Linked DNA regions of Homo sapiens: all the other regions are linked to region 1. The links are contacts of gene promoters, found by promoter capture Hi-C in human tissues and cell types (Jung and others, 2019). All regions are on one chromosome and are shown on one strand. The core of a region is centred on a gene start or on the middle of the fragment in contact, and the rest is flanking DNA. Distances in the headings are between cores, read along the strand shown.

What was found. The method cuts DNA at HindIII sites, captures the fragments that hold promoters and counts their contacts. A contact is called where the count stands out against the background at its distance.
Region 2: a fragment that was not itself captured here is called in contact with the fragment with the promoter of UCHL1 in region 1 in 2 of the 25 tissues and cell types used here (hippocampus and mesenchymal stem cells).
Region 3: a contact is called between a fragment that was not itself captured here and the fragment with the promoter of UCHL1 in region 1, in 2 of the 25 tissues and cell types used here (hippocampus and psoas muscle).
Region 4: a fragment that was not itself captured here is called in contact with the fragment with the promoter of UCHL1 in region 1 in 3 of the 25 tissues and cell types used here (mesenchymal stem cells, neural progenitor cells and pancreas).

Annotation. Positions count from the first base shown.
Region 1 is chr4:41,255,041-41,258,775 of GRCh38, forward strand. UCHL1 (ubiquitin C-terminal hydrolase L1) reads left to right here and starts at 1,888. Exons shown (of 9, transcript NM_004181.5): 1 at 1,888-1,969; 2 at 2,075-2,086; 3 at 2,569-2,697. The coding sequence starts at 1,937. It overlaps UCHL1-DT (UCHL1 divergent transcript), which reads right to left and starts at 1,687. Exons shown (of 3, transcript NR_102709.1): 1 at 1,519-1,687. RefSeq lists a silencer at 2,004-2,763 and an enhancer at 2,598-3,098. The HindIII fragment of the contact is 4,741 bases long and covers 1-3,735 here.
Region 2 is chr4:41,378,991-41,382,725 of GRCh38, forward strand. It overlaps a transcript of LIMCH1 not described here. Among named protein-coding and RNA genes, the nearest start is that of UCHL1, 120 kb to the left of the region's middle. The HindIII fragment of the contact is 3,663 bases long and covers 7-3,669 here.
Region 3 is chr4:41,134,318-41,138,052 of GRCh38, forward strand. All of the region lies in intron 2 of APBB2 (amyloid beta precursor protein binding family B member 2), which reads right to left. Among named protein-coding and RNA genes, the nearest start is that of APBB2, 78 kb to the right of the region's middle. The HindIII fragment of the contact is 9,257 bases long and covers 1-3,735 here.
Region 4 is chr4:41,347,996-41,351,730 of GRCh38, forward strand. No RefSeq gene overlaps it. Among named protein-coding and RNA genes, the nearest start is that of UCHL1, 93 kb to the left of the region's middle. The HindIII fragment of the contact is 6,105 bases long and covers 1-3,735 here.

The sequences.
Region 1 (3,735 bases), core at 638-3,137:
AATACAAAAAAAATTAGCCGGGTGTGGTGGCGGGCGCCTGTAGTCCCAGCTACTCCGGAGGCTGAGGCAGGAGAATGGCGTGAACCGGGGAGGCGGAGCTTGCAGTGAGCCGAGATCGCGCCACTGCACTCCAGCTTGGGCGACAGAGCGAGACTCCGTCTCAAAACAAAACAAACAAAACAAACAAACAAAAAAACGGCATGAGGGAAATTTCCATGTTTATTGTGTTCATCTTTGTATGCCTAATTCCAAACTTTCCAAGCTCGGCACCCAGCACACAGTAGGTTCTTAATATTTGTTGAGTGAATGAATAAATGAAGTAAATTGGAAATGTAATTTGTCTTTGTCTAAAGGCAAGAACTCATTCAATATAACCTAGTCACTTGTCTTGACCTTCACCTCTTTTTTTCTTTAACAACCTTATTGAGGGAAAATTTACATACCATAAGATTCACCCATTAAGCTCCTCTTACTAATTTTTTTCTCTCTCATTTTTGTGTGTGAAGGTCATTTTCTAATGGCAAAAATGGAAAGAAAATAGAAGTAGAATGTTGTGGAATCTTAGATAAAGAATGGGCTCTTGGAGCCCAGTTTAGCAGGGTTTACTTCTCAGTTTTACTTTTCAATTGTGACCGTAAGCAAATTAACTTCTCTAGGCCTGGGATTCTGATCTGTAAAATTGCACTAATATGAGTCTCTTCACGGCTCCTCTAAGGATTAAATGAGAGACACATGCAAAGGATCCCCAAAAACAATAACTCAAAAAATGTTGATTCCCTCCCTTCCCTCTGTCATCTGTTAACCTCAACTTCCTAAATAGAAGGTCTATTCTTTTACCATCATCATTATTCTCTTCGGTGCCTATTTTTAAAAAATACTCAACCTTCTTGCTTCCTTCGCTACCTAAGTATTTCTGCAAGCCCACTTTGTTCTGCAGCTTAGCTTTCCTGGCACAATTCTTATAGATTTTGGTCCCTTTTAAAATTCATTCTTCAGCAAATGCTTTCTCTCTCCATCTTTTGACTAGAGATCATTAGAGATCACCTGAGATCATTAGAGAACAGTGGTTTCCTTGGTTGCCATTCCCTTTCTTCTTCATTGGGAGTATTCTGCGGTGAACTCAGACATTTTATTTTTCAAAGCTTCCCATTCTTTTAAAAATGCTTTTCCTTTTACAGCCTCTCGCTCAAAATCATACCCATCTTTTCCCTGGATCTGTTTTCTCAAGTCTCCAATCGCCTGCCTTCTTTGTGTCTTGTATTACCCTCACATCCCCCAGCTTTCTACTGCTCTCCCAGGACCAACCATTTCTTCCGCGGGAGTCACATTACATCAGCATTCCTAATGCAGTATCTGTTATCTACCAGATTCTGTTTTATTCTAGGTAGTCACTTAAAAACGAACCTCGGTACTGGTCTGACTTAACATGGAGGAGGAATTGTCTAAGGTTAAACGCAAACTGCTGAGAGATTTGGGGCGGGGGGCACACATTTACATTCATTCGTATTAAATATATACCTGTTGAATTTGTGCTTTTTCTCAAATGCTTCAGAGACTCGAGCTTTAGAGTAATTGGGATGGTGAAAGGATGGGTTTCCAGAAACTTCGCCCAAAATTAAAGACTCCATCAAAAGGACTGCTCCATACACTCAAGGAACACCCACCAACAAATCCCGTCTCCACAACCACCAGATTATCTCACCGGCGAGTGAGACTGCAAGGTTTGGGGGCCCGGCCGTACCACTCCGCGCTGCGCACGGGGGGTTCGTACCCATCTGGCCGCGACCGTCCGTTTCCCCCTCGCTTGGTTCTGCCCCTGCTCCCCCTGCACAGGCCTCACAGTGCGTCTGGCCGGCGCTTTATAGCTGCAGCCTGGGCGGCTCCGCTAGCTGTTTTTCGTCTTCCCTAGGCTATTTCTGCCGGGCGCTCCGCGAAGATGCAGCTCAAGCCGATGGAGATCAACCCCGAGGTGAGCGCCAGGTGCACCGCTACCCGGAGAGCGCGAGGCCGAGGGAGGGGGAGCCGAGTCGCTGATCGGTTCGGTTTTGCCTTTTTCTTTGCATTTGCCTTTCAGATGCTGAACAAAGTGAGTGGCGTCTCGCGCCGTCTCTGGCCCCCTCCCCCGCGAGCGCCGAGGCGGGGGCGCCCACCGGTTCCGGCTGCTGGCAGGGACCAAGCCGCCCGCTGCGAGCACCGGAGACGGCCGGGCTGGGGCGTGGGCTGGGCGCCTTTCCTGGGCCCCTGCATTTAGCGGGTGACTCTACGAAACCGGTCACGGGGAGACGGAGGGGGCTGCGCCCCGTGGCGAGCGAGCGCCAGGCGGAGCTCCCGAGGGCGTGGCGCGGGCAGCACAGACTCGGCTGCACGGGCTTCGCGGGCGCCACGTGTGGGCCGCGCTTTGTGCTGTGTCATTGCGCCGGCCCGGGTGGGGGTGGCAGGGCGGGACTGGGGCTCCTCCCAGGCTCGGGTGCGGGCGCGGAGGGCGCGCGCCTCCTGGCCCCGCCCCCTGGCAGGTGCCCGCGACCCGCGTGTCCCCGTGCGCCTGGCCGCCTTGTCTCCTCTCCGCAGGTGCTGTCCCGGCTGGGGGTCGCCGGCCAGTGGCGCTTCGTGGACGTGCTGGGGCTGGAAGAGGAGTCTCTGGGCTCGGTGCCAGCGCCTGCCTGCGCGCTGCTGCTGCTGTTTCCCCTCACGGCCCAGGTAGGGCGTGGGGCCCAGGATGCGCCGGCCGCCGGCAGTGCACGCCGCTCCCCAGCTTGAGTCCTCGGGGGCTCCCCGCCCCGCCCCCTCCCCTGTAGGTGATGCGGGGCGCGCCTACAAGGAAGGGAGGAGCCTGCATTTTCGTGGTACCTACTCCCTGGGCTCCTGTTCCAGCGGTGCCTGTCGCCTTCTTGCCCATCCGTCCACAATTGCCTTAAATTTGGAAGAGAGGCAGTATCTCAGTTCCATCTATCCCGTTATCCAGGGAAATCATTCATCCTACTCATGAGTTCCCTCGAACTTGGGCTTTTTCGAGCCTCCGGTTCCGGGGAATGGCTGCTGGTTTCCCTTTAAGGGCTATAACCTGTCAACTCATTGTTTGCTTCTCAGACTCCCACCTAGCTGTAGAATGGAGGGGGAAGGGCTGACCTAAATCGCAGGGAAACAATTAGGTTCGCTAATTCTCCGCCTCCATTACTTGGGTTTCTGATGGTCTTAAGGGGTTCTTCTCTCTTCTCCACTCCCACCACTTGCACACTTGGTTTTTAGCCTCTTGAATGTATTTCTTAAAGCTTAATCATTTTGTGTATGGTTTCTGTGTGGGAACCTCCTTCCTCTTCACTTATCCTTGTTCATCTCTGACCTTGTAGCTAACTGAAATAGGGGGTTATTAGCTCAGTTTTGAAAGCACCTTTGCATTTCCCTTGAAATGATTTTCCTCCTACAAGTGTGCATGGATAGATGTATCTGAAAGACAGCGTCAGATTTTTTTTTTTAAAGGATAGCTAGGATATTTGCAGTCTTGTGATGTATGGAATCCCAGTCATTAGCGCATGGCATTGTCTTATCTCCTATTGCTGTCACTTGACCGCTGATGTGGGAGTGACTGAAATTAGCTTTAGCAAAACTTGGGGCATCACTCTAAAGAGTGAGGTTAACTGAAGCACCGTCCTAAGGCTAGGTGTTCTGGAAGCATCTGTAGCCAAAATCAAGAGTATGGGAAGTTCCAAGCCTTCCTCCTAGTAAGTAAGCTAAGTA
Region 2 (3,735 bases), core at 588-3,087, 120 kb after region 1:
TAGATACTTGTCAAGAAAACTGTTAAAAGTTTTTTGATGGTGATTTAGTTATTGGTGCATAATAGATTAGCCCAAAACACAGTAGCTTAAACCAACAAGTATTTATTATTTTATAGTTTCTATGAGTCAGAAATTTGGGAATGATTAGTTAGATGGTTCTGGCTCGGGTTTTTCTTGAGGTTGCAAACAAGATGTTGGCTGGGCAGGTGTCATCTGAAGGCTTGACTGTGGCTGGAAGATCTGCTTCTAAGATGGCTCCCTCATGTGCCTGTATGCAGGAGGCCTCAGTACTTTGCTGGCTGTTGGCAGGAGGTATTAGTTCCTGTCATCTAGGCCTCCCTGTGGGGCTGCTTGTGTGTCCTTATAACATGGCAGCTGACTTCCCCTAAAGTGAATGATTCAGGAGAGCAAAAAGGAAGGCATGGTAGGACCTGGCTTCAGACTTCACATGTCACCATATCTGCCAACTTATCTGCCACTGTATCAGCCACCATAACTTCCTAAGAAGTTAGTCATTAAGTACAGCCCACACCCAAGAGGAGAGGAATTAGACTCCACCTTTTGAAAGGAGGAGTATCAAAGAATCTGTGGACATATTTTAAAGCCATCATAAGTGGCTACACGATCAATATGTAATTTTAACTGTAACTGGTCATTTATCATGTTTTATATATAAGGGATTCAATATTAGATATTCTGATACTAAGTCATTTGTCTAGTCCAGTCTATTTAGATAAATGATGACGGTAAGATATTCTCTCTAGATATATTTTCCAAAATAGGTCTAGTATTTTATTTATTTATTTATTTTTATTTTTATTTTTTTGAGACAGAGTCTCGCTGTGTTGCCCAGGCTGGGGTGCAGTGACGCGATCTCAGCTCACTGCAACCTCCATCTCCTGGGTTCAGGCAGTTCTCCTGCCTCAGCCCCCTGAGTAGCTGGGATTACAGGTGTGCACTACCACACCTGGCTAATTTTGTATTTTTAGTAGAGATGGGGTTTTGCCATGTTGGCCAGGCTGGTCTCAAACTCCCTGACGTTAACCTCAGGTGATCCACCCGTTTTGGCCTCCCAAAGTGCTAGGATTACAGGTGTGAGCCACCATGCCCAGCCAGGTCTAGTATTTTAAACACCACCACTACCACCACCACCAAACAATATAGGAATAAAAATGCTTCCACTCTGAAATCCCACCTGATATAGGTAATCACTGGTAATATGCACTATTTATATTGAAACTCATGTTACTGAAAGTTTTGATTAGTTCTGGAAACTTTTATTTAAACAAAATCTTACAGAGATTTGATATCTTCTTTTCTTTTCTTTCTTCTTTCTTGTAGAGATGGTATCTCACTTTGTTGCCTAGGCTGGCCTTGATCTCCTCCTGGCCTCAAGCAATCCTGCCCTGGCCTCCCAAAGTGCTGGGATTACAAGCATGAGCCACTGCACCCAGCCTGAGATTTGATTTGATATTTTCTTTTCTTTCTTTTTTTTTTTTTAGATAAGCATGTAATAATAATTACTGCCTCCCTGCTAGTGGAGAGCTCTGGCTCAGCAGTTCTCAACTCTGGCTACACATTAGAATTATTTGGGAGCTTTTGATTTAAAATGATCTGGATCAGGGCCTGAGCATTGTTATTTTATAGACATTTTCCCCCAAGTGATTGCAATGTGCAGCCAGGGTGGAGAACACAGCAGATGACAAAATAAGTGAGTAAGTTGCACTGGGCGATATTGGCAGATCTAAGATTTAAAACTTGTTTGAATGATTATTTATGTGGGGGTGTGTGAAGAGATGTGCATCCAGGGAATACAGTTATATTCTGTCTGCCAACAACATCATTCCTAGTTCACATGATGGAATAAAATAATCAGTATTTTATGGCATACTATAAAGAGTAGTAGAATGTTCTAGATACCTGAGCAGATTTGACCACAGCTTCTTTAGGAGAATCTTCTTATTTTCTGCACTGAATCATAGGCATTCCTGAGTGTAAAGTCATATCACAATCAGTTATTCTTTGTACAAATGTCCTAATTTATTCATTTATTCAATAAACAGATCTTGAACACTTACTGTGTGCCAGGTAGGTGCATTTAATATCCAAGCCACTGAATGCCAGGCACTGAATGCCCAAGGAAGAACTTAACCTTATTCTTAAACTAATATCTTAATATAGATTCTAGCACCAAGTGAGTGATTCTCAGTCCCATAGAGGAGACAAACAGGTGCACAAAAGTGGAGGCCAAGGTAACTAAATTTAAATAACTGTACAGCACAGCACCAACCAATCAGAGCAGACCCAGTGACAGTAGTGCCTGCCATGGTGAATACCGGCTGTCTGTCAGCTCCAAGTATCGGTAATACGAAGTGCAGTATTTTAAACACCCAAAGAGGAATGTAAACAAGAGGGAGCAGAGAGAAGGGAACCACTTTTATAATTCCAAATTCATGTTTCCCTCACAGAGGGAGCTGAATTGGTGTGGTTGGCTATACCAGTTTTCCATCCTGTCCTGTGTACATACCCCTTGCCAAGTGACTGCCGTTCTTCTCCCTGAAGAGGTGGAGTCTGTTTCCTGACTCCTTGGATTCGGGCAGGCCCTCTGACTTGCTTTGGCCAGTAGAATGCAGCAGAAGTGATGAGGTGCCTGTTCCAAGCTTAGGCTGTAAGACACCTTGGGTAATTCTGCTTGTTCTTTCTCCTCTGTCATCGCTGTGACAAGATGCCCCAGATGGCCTGCTGGAGGATGAGAGACCTGGACAAAGCCAAATTGCCCCACTTGCCCCAGACAAGGCTATCCTAGATCAGCTAATAGCCAGCCAGCACCTACAGTGAAGTTTCTCAGCAGAAGCACTTTGACATTAGGGGTTGGATCATTGTGTTTTGGGGAGCTGTTCATTTTAGGATGGTTAGCATCATCCCTGGCCTGTACTCACCGGATCCCAGTAGTACCCCCACTGCCAAAGGTGTGACAACCAAAAATGTCTCCAGACATTGCCAGATGCCCCCAAGGGGCAAAACATCCTCTGATTGAGAACTTGTGCTCCAGACTTATGAGTGCGTCCAGCTAAGATCAGCAGTGCTACCTAGTTTCTGACCGCAGATACATGAGCAGTAAATGCCTAGTGTTGTTTACCACTGAAGTGTGTGGATATTTGTCTCATAGCATTGTTGTGGAATAGGTAGCTAATACAGTGATCAAAAACATGGAAACATGGAAGTGGGAGATGGAACTGGACAATTGGAAGTAGTCCAGTTGGGTGGGAACTTGACAAGTAGATTTGTAGGTAGAGTTGGGTTAGTGTGAAGTACAGACGAGGCTAGAAAGCTAGGGTAGGCTGTATCCGTGGAGAATTTAGGTGCCTTGGTATGAACTGGGGACACGGTTATTCATGGGCGGGGGAGGGAGGGGTGCTGTCAGAGGTTTTAGTTATGTATTTATAGCCAAGGAAACAGGGCTATGAGTTTGTACTGTAGGCAGCAGTAGGGAGGGGGAATTGGAAGCAGGAGGGAGGGCTCTGCAGTAGTTCAGTTGATGCATACATAAGGCCTGAATTAGGGAATTAGGAGAGTGATCATAGGTGTGGAAAGGAGGGGAGGGCTTCCAGGCACATTTGGTGTAAAATGGATACAACTTGGTAACCTGTACATTGCTACCTTTGCACATTTGGTTTCCCCTGTCTCAAAGGCTCCCTCTTCTCGAGTGTTGCTCTACTCAACCATCAATACTCA
Region 3 (3,735 bases), core at 841-3,340, 120 kb before region 1:
GCCTGTAATCCCAGCACTTTGGGAGGCCAAGGCGGGCTGATCACAAGGTCAGGAGATGGAGACCATCCTGGCTAACATGGTGAAACCCCATCTCTACTAAAAATACAAAAAAAACAATTAGCCAGGCATGGTGGCGGGTGCCTGTAGTCCCAGCCCCCAGCCCCCCACAAATAAAGAAAATATATAAAGAGAGTTTGCTCTGGGTAAACCACTTCATAGGCAGTGCTTTGATTTATACAAGTATATCATGGAGTTTCGGAACATCTGGATTCAAATTTAAATTAGTGGGTGTAAGACTTGAACAAAAATCATTTGATCTCTCCAATCCTGAGCTTCTCTAAAACTGGGTAACACTGTCTCTGTCAAAGAACTGTTGTGAGGATCAAATGAAGTCTGCCCCCGCCTTGAGCCACTCCCATAAGATACTGAGAAAGTGCTTAGTACTTGGCAAACTGCACATGCAACCTCTCCCCAGAAGGGCTTGCATTTTGGCTGTTTCCCTCAATAATACTTCATTTCGTTCCCTCCAGCAAACTACCACAGCTGCCCTCCTTACAGGACACTGCTAACTAGTTCACTTGGAATTTAACTGATTTGCACTGAAGTAACACAAATTCAACATTCCTTATCACTCATATGTTAATGACTGCTCAAGACCAGTGGTCATTTTCAATCCTATTTTAGAATAATCAAGGATCTAAAGTCCTGATTGGAACTCCAGACTTCTTATTTCTAGGAGAATTCATTCCTCAAGTCACTAATTACTGTCTTACTTTTCATATGCTCTGTGACATTTTAACCAGACACCAGAAAAAAAGCCACAGCAGTAACAAACTATATCCTTGAGCCCTCAAAAAAAAAAAAAAAAAAAAAATCACCCTTACAAACCCAAGCATAGCATGGTTACTATGATTCTAAAACCTGTCCTCAAAGGGCCTCAGATGCATGACGATTACATTCAAAACTATATTCTTTCATCCTTAAAGACAGTACACTAACAAACTGCACCGAAAGATTTTTTAATGCAAGCCAGACCAATGTTGATACTTGTTTTTTATAAATTATTATATGTTTTTTCATAGACACTATCCAAACCAGTAGACTATTTTTGTTTATGAATGAAGCCAAGGATCAATGATCAATGCTTATTTGAATAGATAATAATCAATTTGGAAATTTCAGAAACTTTGAATAGCTATCGTGTCATGCGTATAGATCTTATTTGGACAATATAATCAAATTAAACATTTTATGCATCACAGATCAGTATGAAACTGAGAAAGTACTGTTTGTTCTTGTATCAGTAATTATATTAAAATAAATGACTGTATGTCACTCACAGTATCTTTGAAAGCTGTTAAAGAAAACCTATACTTCACAGATTATTCAACATAAAAAAAGACAAGAAAAATATCAAAAGATATATTATTCCAAACTCTGTTAATGTATTTGTCATAAACATCCTCATTACAGATGTATACAAAATTGTGGCTGTACTAAAGAAGCAAGTTCCAGGCACTCTTTTCTTTTCTAGACAGGATCTGGGTCTTGCTATGTTGCCCATGCTGGTCTCAAGCTCCTGGGCTCAAGCAATTCTCTTGCCTCAGCCTCCTGAATAGCTGGGACTACAGATACGTGCCACCACACCCAGTTCCCTGACACTCTCTTCATTCTGGTGTTGACTCAGTGAATGTGACTAGGTTGATCTGATTTTGCTTCATCTGCAAGCAAATGATCATAAATAGGCCAGAGTCTTCATGAATGTAATTGTACTACAACTCAAACTTCAGTGATTCAATCATTTTGAATCCCAACTTCAGCTGGCAAAAAGGCTCTATTCAAAGTAAACGATGGTTAAGAGGTTACTCTAACCCAGCCATGCTTTGATTCAGCTCCCAAAAGAAAACAAGAATAAGAAGACCTTATCTTTCCAGAACATTATACTACACTCCTCATGGAGTCATTCTGTGAATAGGTCACAAAGATGTTTAAAGGGGCAACAGAGAGAAAGAAAAGATTTAAAGAAGTGACTGGGTTAAAAGTTTCATAACACCTATTTCCAGGGACTTAGAGTTATAAATGAAAGCTTACTTATGGCTTTGACTTTAAATGAACAATAAAAAAGATAATTCCATGTTGCTCTATGGATATGTTTTTAGGAGGTGATATTATCAGTTAAAAGACTTCCCAGGAAAGTAAAAGGGCCAGGTAACACACATGTCAGTTGCCATCAAGCTGGTCTACTCAGGTTGAAATGAGAAGATTACGAAGAAAGCAGGAAGCAGATAAGCCATCCTGAGAACTGAGCCCTCCAGGAACCAGGACGCATGGCTTGACCTACTAACGGCACTGCAGAAAACAGGTTCCAAATCTAATAGCATGACTGTAATCTCCAGTTAAAGCCCAGCAGCAATAGTCAGCTCAGCTATGTGCCAGAGAAGGGAAATGTCTCTGCATTTCACCAAGACTTACATTTAGATTTTTTTCACATTAAAAATGTCATGTCCCAAACAAAATTAGGAGTTTATTAGAAAACAAGAGAAAATGATCAACTAGATTCCAAATGTCACAATAAAGCACTGACTTTTAAACAATTTCCTTTTCAATGTTTATGCATCCATAACGCAGTTGTAACTAAAGATATATATATTTTGCAATCTTCACATTTCTAATATAATTATTTTAATGTCTTCACACTTAGCTATTCAGAATCATACTAATACAAAGATAAAAACAGAATAGGTAAATATAAAAATACAGCTAGCATTTTATACTATGAAAAATGTCCCATTTTCATAAAACATATACAACTACACTATGTTACCAAACACACGCAAGACATTTTAATTCATAGGTTTTCTATTTAGTAAAATAATAGTTTTGTGATATGAGACCCAATTCATGTTACCATTAATGAAAATACTTGAAATAATATGCCAGCCTTGTAAAACCTTCATTCAGTAGTTATTGGGAATGATTAAGACAGAGGTAATGAAAAACTTAATCTTTTTTTTTCCAAATGCAGAACAGGTATAAAAATGATTACCACCTTTATGAAAAACAAAGCACTGCTTAAAGTCATATATATAGTAATCTGGAAAATGCACTTTGATTGATTCCACATTGTCATCTACCATATTAGATTTCCATAATTACCCCAAAGAGAAAACACCAAATACTAGTACTCTAACACAGTGACTCATAAAGAACAGAGAGGAAAAGTAGCAAAGGTACAACAGTGTTTTTTAGTGAAGACACTGCATCTTAAGTCCAATTCTTGAACTAACTTTTTTCATAGAAAAATTGCATTGCAAAAACCAGTGTGGTACTAGCATAAGGACAGATGGTAAACCAAAGGCACAGAATTGAGAGTACAGAAAGAAAGCCCTTACATTTGTGGTCAATTGATTTTCTACAAAAAAAGTCAAGTCACTGGTTAGCCTTTTCTGCAAATGGTGCTAAGACCTATATGCAAAAAATAAAAATAAAAAATCAACAAAATAAGATAAACATAGACCCAAACCTCACACCATACATAAAAATTGACCCCAAATGAATTAAACACCAAAATGTAAAGGGTAAAGCAACAAAAGTTTTAGAAAGAGCCTGGGCGCACTGAGGCAGGTGGATCATGAGGTCAGGAGATCAAGACCATCCTAGCTAACACGGTAAAACCCCGTCTCTATCAAAAATACAAAAAATTAGCCAGGTGGGTGGCTGGCACCTGTAGTTCCA
Region 4 (3,735 bases), core at 1-2,500, 92 kb after region 1:
CTCGCTCTGTCGCCCAGGCTGGAGTGCAGTGGCATGGTCTCAGCTCACTGCAACTTCTGCCTCCCAGTTTCCAGTGATTCTTCTGTCTCAGCCTCCTGAGTAACTGGGATTACATGCATGTCCACCATGCCTGGCTAGTTTTTATATTTTTAGTAGAGATGGGGTTTCACCATGTTGGCCAGGCAGGCCTCAAACTCCTGACCTCAGGTGATCCACCCATCTCGGCCTCCCAAAATGCTGGGATTACAGGCATGAGCCACCATGCCCTACCTAATTCTCCATTTTTTTTTTTTTTTTTTTTTTTTCTGGAGATGAGGTCTCACTCTGTCACCCAGCCTGGAGTGTAGTGGTGCAGTCACAGCTCACTGCAGCCTGGAACTCCTGCATACAAGCGATCTTCCCACTTCAGCCTCCTAAGTAGCTAGGACTACAGGCATGCACCAGGCACATGCAGCTAATTTATTTATTTGTTTGTTTTTGTAGAGATGGGTGGGGGGGTCTCCGTATGTTGCTCAGGCTGGTCTCGAACTCTTGGTCTCAAATTATTCTCCTGCCTCAGCCTCCCAAAGTGTTGGCATTACAGGCATAAGCCACCATGCCCAGCCTAATTTCTACTTTGGTGTCTGCTTCTCAGAAGACCAAGACTATCACACTGTTTGACCTCAAAACCTATGCTCTTAAAAAAAATTAACTAAAAATCGATCAAAGACCTAAATGTAAGAGCTACAGCAATAAAACTCTTACAAGTAAACAGCATAAATCTTCATGACCTTGGATTAGTCAATGCTTTCTTAGATATGACACCAAAAGCACCAGCAACAAAAGAAAAAAATAAATAATTAGACCTCATCAGAATGAAAAACTCTGGTACTTCAAAGGACACCACTAAGAAAGTGAAAAGTCCCACTACCAAATGGCAGAAGATATTTGCAAACCATATATCTGGATAAGAGATTTGTATCTAGAATATATAAAGAACTCTTATAACTCAATGATAAAAAGAGAAATAACAACTAAGAATGGACAAAAGTTCTGAATAGACATTTCTCTGAAGAATATGTACAAATGGCCAAAAAGCACAAGAAAAGATGTCTGGCATCATTAGCCATCAGGGAAATGCAAACTAAACCCACAACCAGATACCACAACCAGATACACACTAGGATAGCTATAATAAAAAAACTTGGCAAGTGTTGGCAAGGATGTGGAGAAATTGGAAACTTTATACACTGCTGCTGGGAATGTAAAAGGATGCAGCTGCTGAGGAAAAGTCTGGTCATTCATCAAAAGATTAAACATAGAGTTATCATATGACCCAGCAATTCTACTTTTTCTCCTATACTGAAGAGAAATGAAAACATTTGTCCATACAAAATCTTGTGCATGAATGTTGATAAGCAGCATTATTCATAATAACCAACAAGTGGAAAGAACTGAAGTATCCATCAACTGATGAATGGGAGGGTCCGTTCCAAGATGGCTGAATAGGAACAGCTCCGGTCTGTAGCTCCCAGCGTGACTGACGCAGAAGACGTGTGATTTCTGCATTTCCAACTGAGGTACCTGGTTCATCTCACTGGGACTGGTTGGACAGTGGGTGCTGCCCATGAAGGGTGAGCCGAAGCAGGGTGGGGCATTGCCTCACCTGGGAAGTGCAAGGGGTTGGGGGATTTCCCTTTCCTAGCCAAGGGAAGCCATGACAGACTGTACCAGGAAAAGCGCGACACTGCCACCCAAATACTGTGCTTTTCCAATGGTCTTAGCAAATGGCACACCAGGAGATTATATCCCGGGCGTGACTCAGCGGGTCCCATGCCCATGGAGCCCCGCTCACTGCTAGCACAGCAGTCCATGATTTAACTGTGAGGTGGCAGCCTGGCTGGGGGAGGAGCGTCCGCCATTGCTGAGGCTTGAGTAGGTAAACAAAGCCGCCGGGAAGCTTGAACTGGGTGGAGCCCACCACAGCTCAACAAGGCCTGCCTGCCTCTGTAGACTCCACTTCTGGAAGTAGGGCATAAGTGAACAAAAGGCAGCAGAAACTTCTGCAGACTTAAACGTCCCTGTCTGATGGCTCTGAAGAGAGCAGTGGTTCTCCCAGCGTGGTGTTTGAGCTCTGAGAATGGGCAGACTGCCTCCTCAAGTGGGTCCCTGACCCACATGTTGCCTAACTGGGAGACACCTCCCAGTAGGGGCCGACTGACACCTCATACAGCTGGGTGCCCCTCTGAGATGAAGCTTCCAGAGGAAGGATCAGGCAGCAATATTTGCTGTTCTGCAGCCTCCGCTGGTGATACCCAGGGAAACAGGGTCTGGATTGGACCTCCAGCAAACTCCAACAGACCTGCAGCTGAGGGACCTGACTGTTAGAAAGAAAACTAACAAACAGAAAGGAATAGCATCAACATCAACAAAAAGGACATCCACACCAAAACCCCATCTGTAGGTCACCATCATCAAACACCAAAGGTAGATAAAACCACAAAGATGGGGAGAAAGCAGAGCAGAAAAGCTGAAAATTCTAAAAACAAGAGCACCTTTTCTCCTCCAAAAGATCACAGCTCCTCACCAGCAATGGAACAAAGCTGGACGGAGAATGACTTTGACAAGTTGACAGAAGTAGGCTTCAGAAGGTCGGTAATAACAAACTTCTCTGAGCTAAAGGAGGATGTTTGAACCCATTGCAAGGAAGCTAAAAACCCTGAAAAAAGATTAGATGAATGGCTAATTAGAATAAACAGTGTAGAGAAGACCTTACATGACCTGATGGAGCTGAAAACCATGGCACGAGAACTACATGATGCATGCACAAGCTTCAGTAGCCAATTCCGATCAAGTAGAAGAAAGGGTATCAGTGATTGAAGATCAAATTAATGAAATGAAGTGAGAAGAGAAGTTTAGAGAAAAATGAGTAAAAAGAAATGAACAAAGCCTCCAAGAAATATGGGACTATGTGAAAAGACCAAATCTACGTTTGATGGGTGTACCTGAAAGTGACAGGGAGAATGGAACCAAGCTGGAAAACACTCTGCAGGATATTATCCAGGAGAACTTCCCCAACCTAGCAAGACAGGCCAACATTCAAATTCAGGAAATACAGAGAACACCACAAAGATACTCCTCGAGAAGAGCAACCCCAAGACAGATAATTGTCAGTTTCACCAAGGTTGAAATGAAGGAAAAAATGTTAAGGGCAGCCAGCAAGAAAGGTCGGGTTACCCACAAAGGGAAGCCCATCAGACTAACAGCTGATCTCTCAGCAGAAACTCTACAAGCCAGAAGAGAGTGGGGGCCAATATCCAACATTCTTAAAGAAAAGAATTTTCAACCCAGAATTTCATATCCAGCCAAACTAAGCTTCATAAGTGAAGGAGAAATAAACTCCTTTACAGACAAGCAAATGCTGAGAGATTTTGTCACCACCAGGCCTGCCTTACGAGAGCGCCTGAAGGAAGCACTAAACTTGGAAAGGGACAACCGGTACCAGCCACTGCAAAAACATACCAAATTGTAAAGACCATTGATGCTGGGAAGAAACTGCATCAACTAACGGGCAAAATAACCAGCTAACATCATAATGACAGGATCAAATTCACACATAACAATATTAACCTTAAATGTAAATAGGATAAATGCCCCAATTAAAAGACACAGACTAGCAAATTGGATAAAGAGTCAAGACACATCAGTGTCCTGTATTCAGGAGACCCATCTCACGTGCAAAGACACACATAGGCT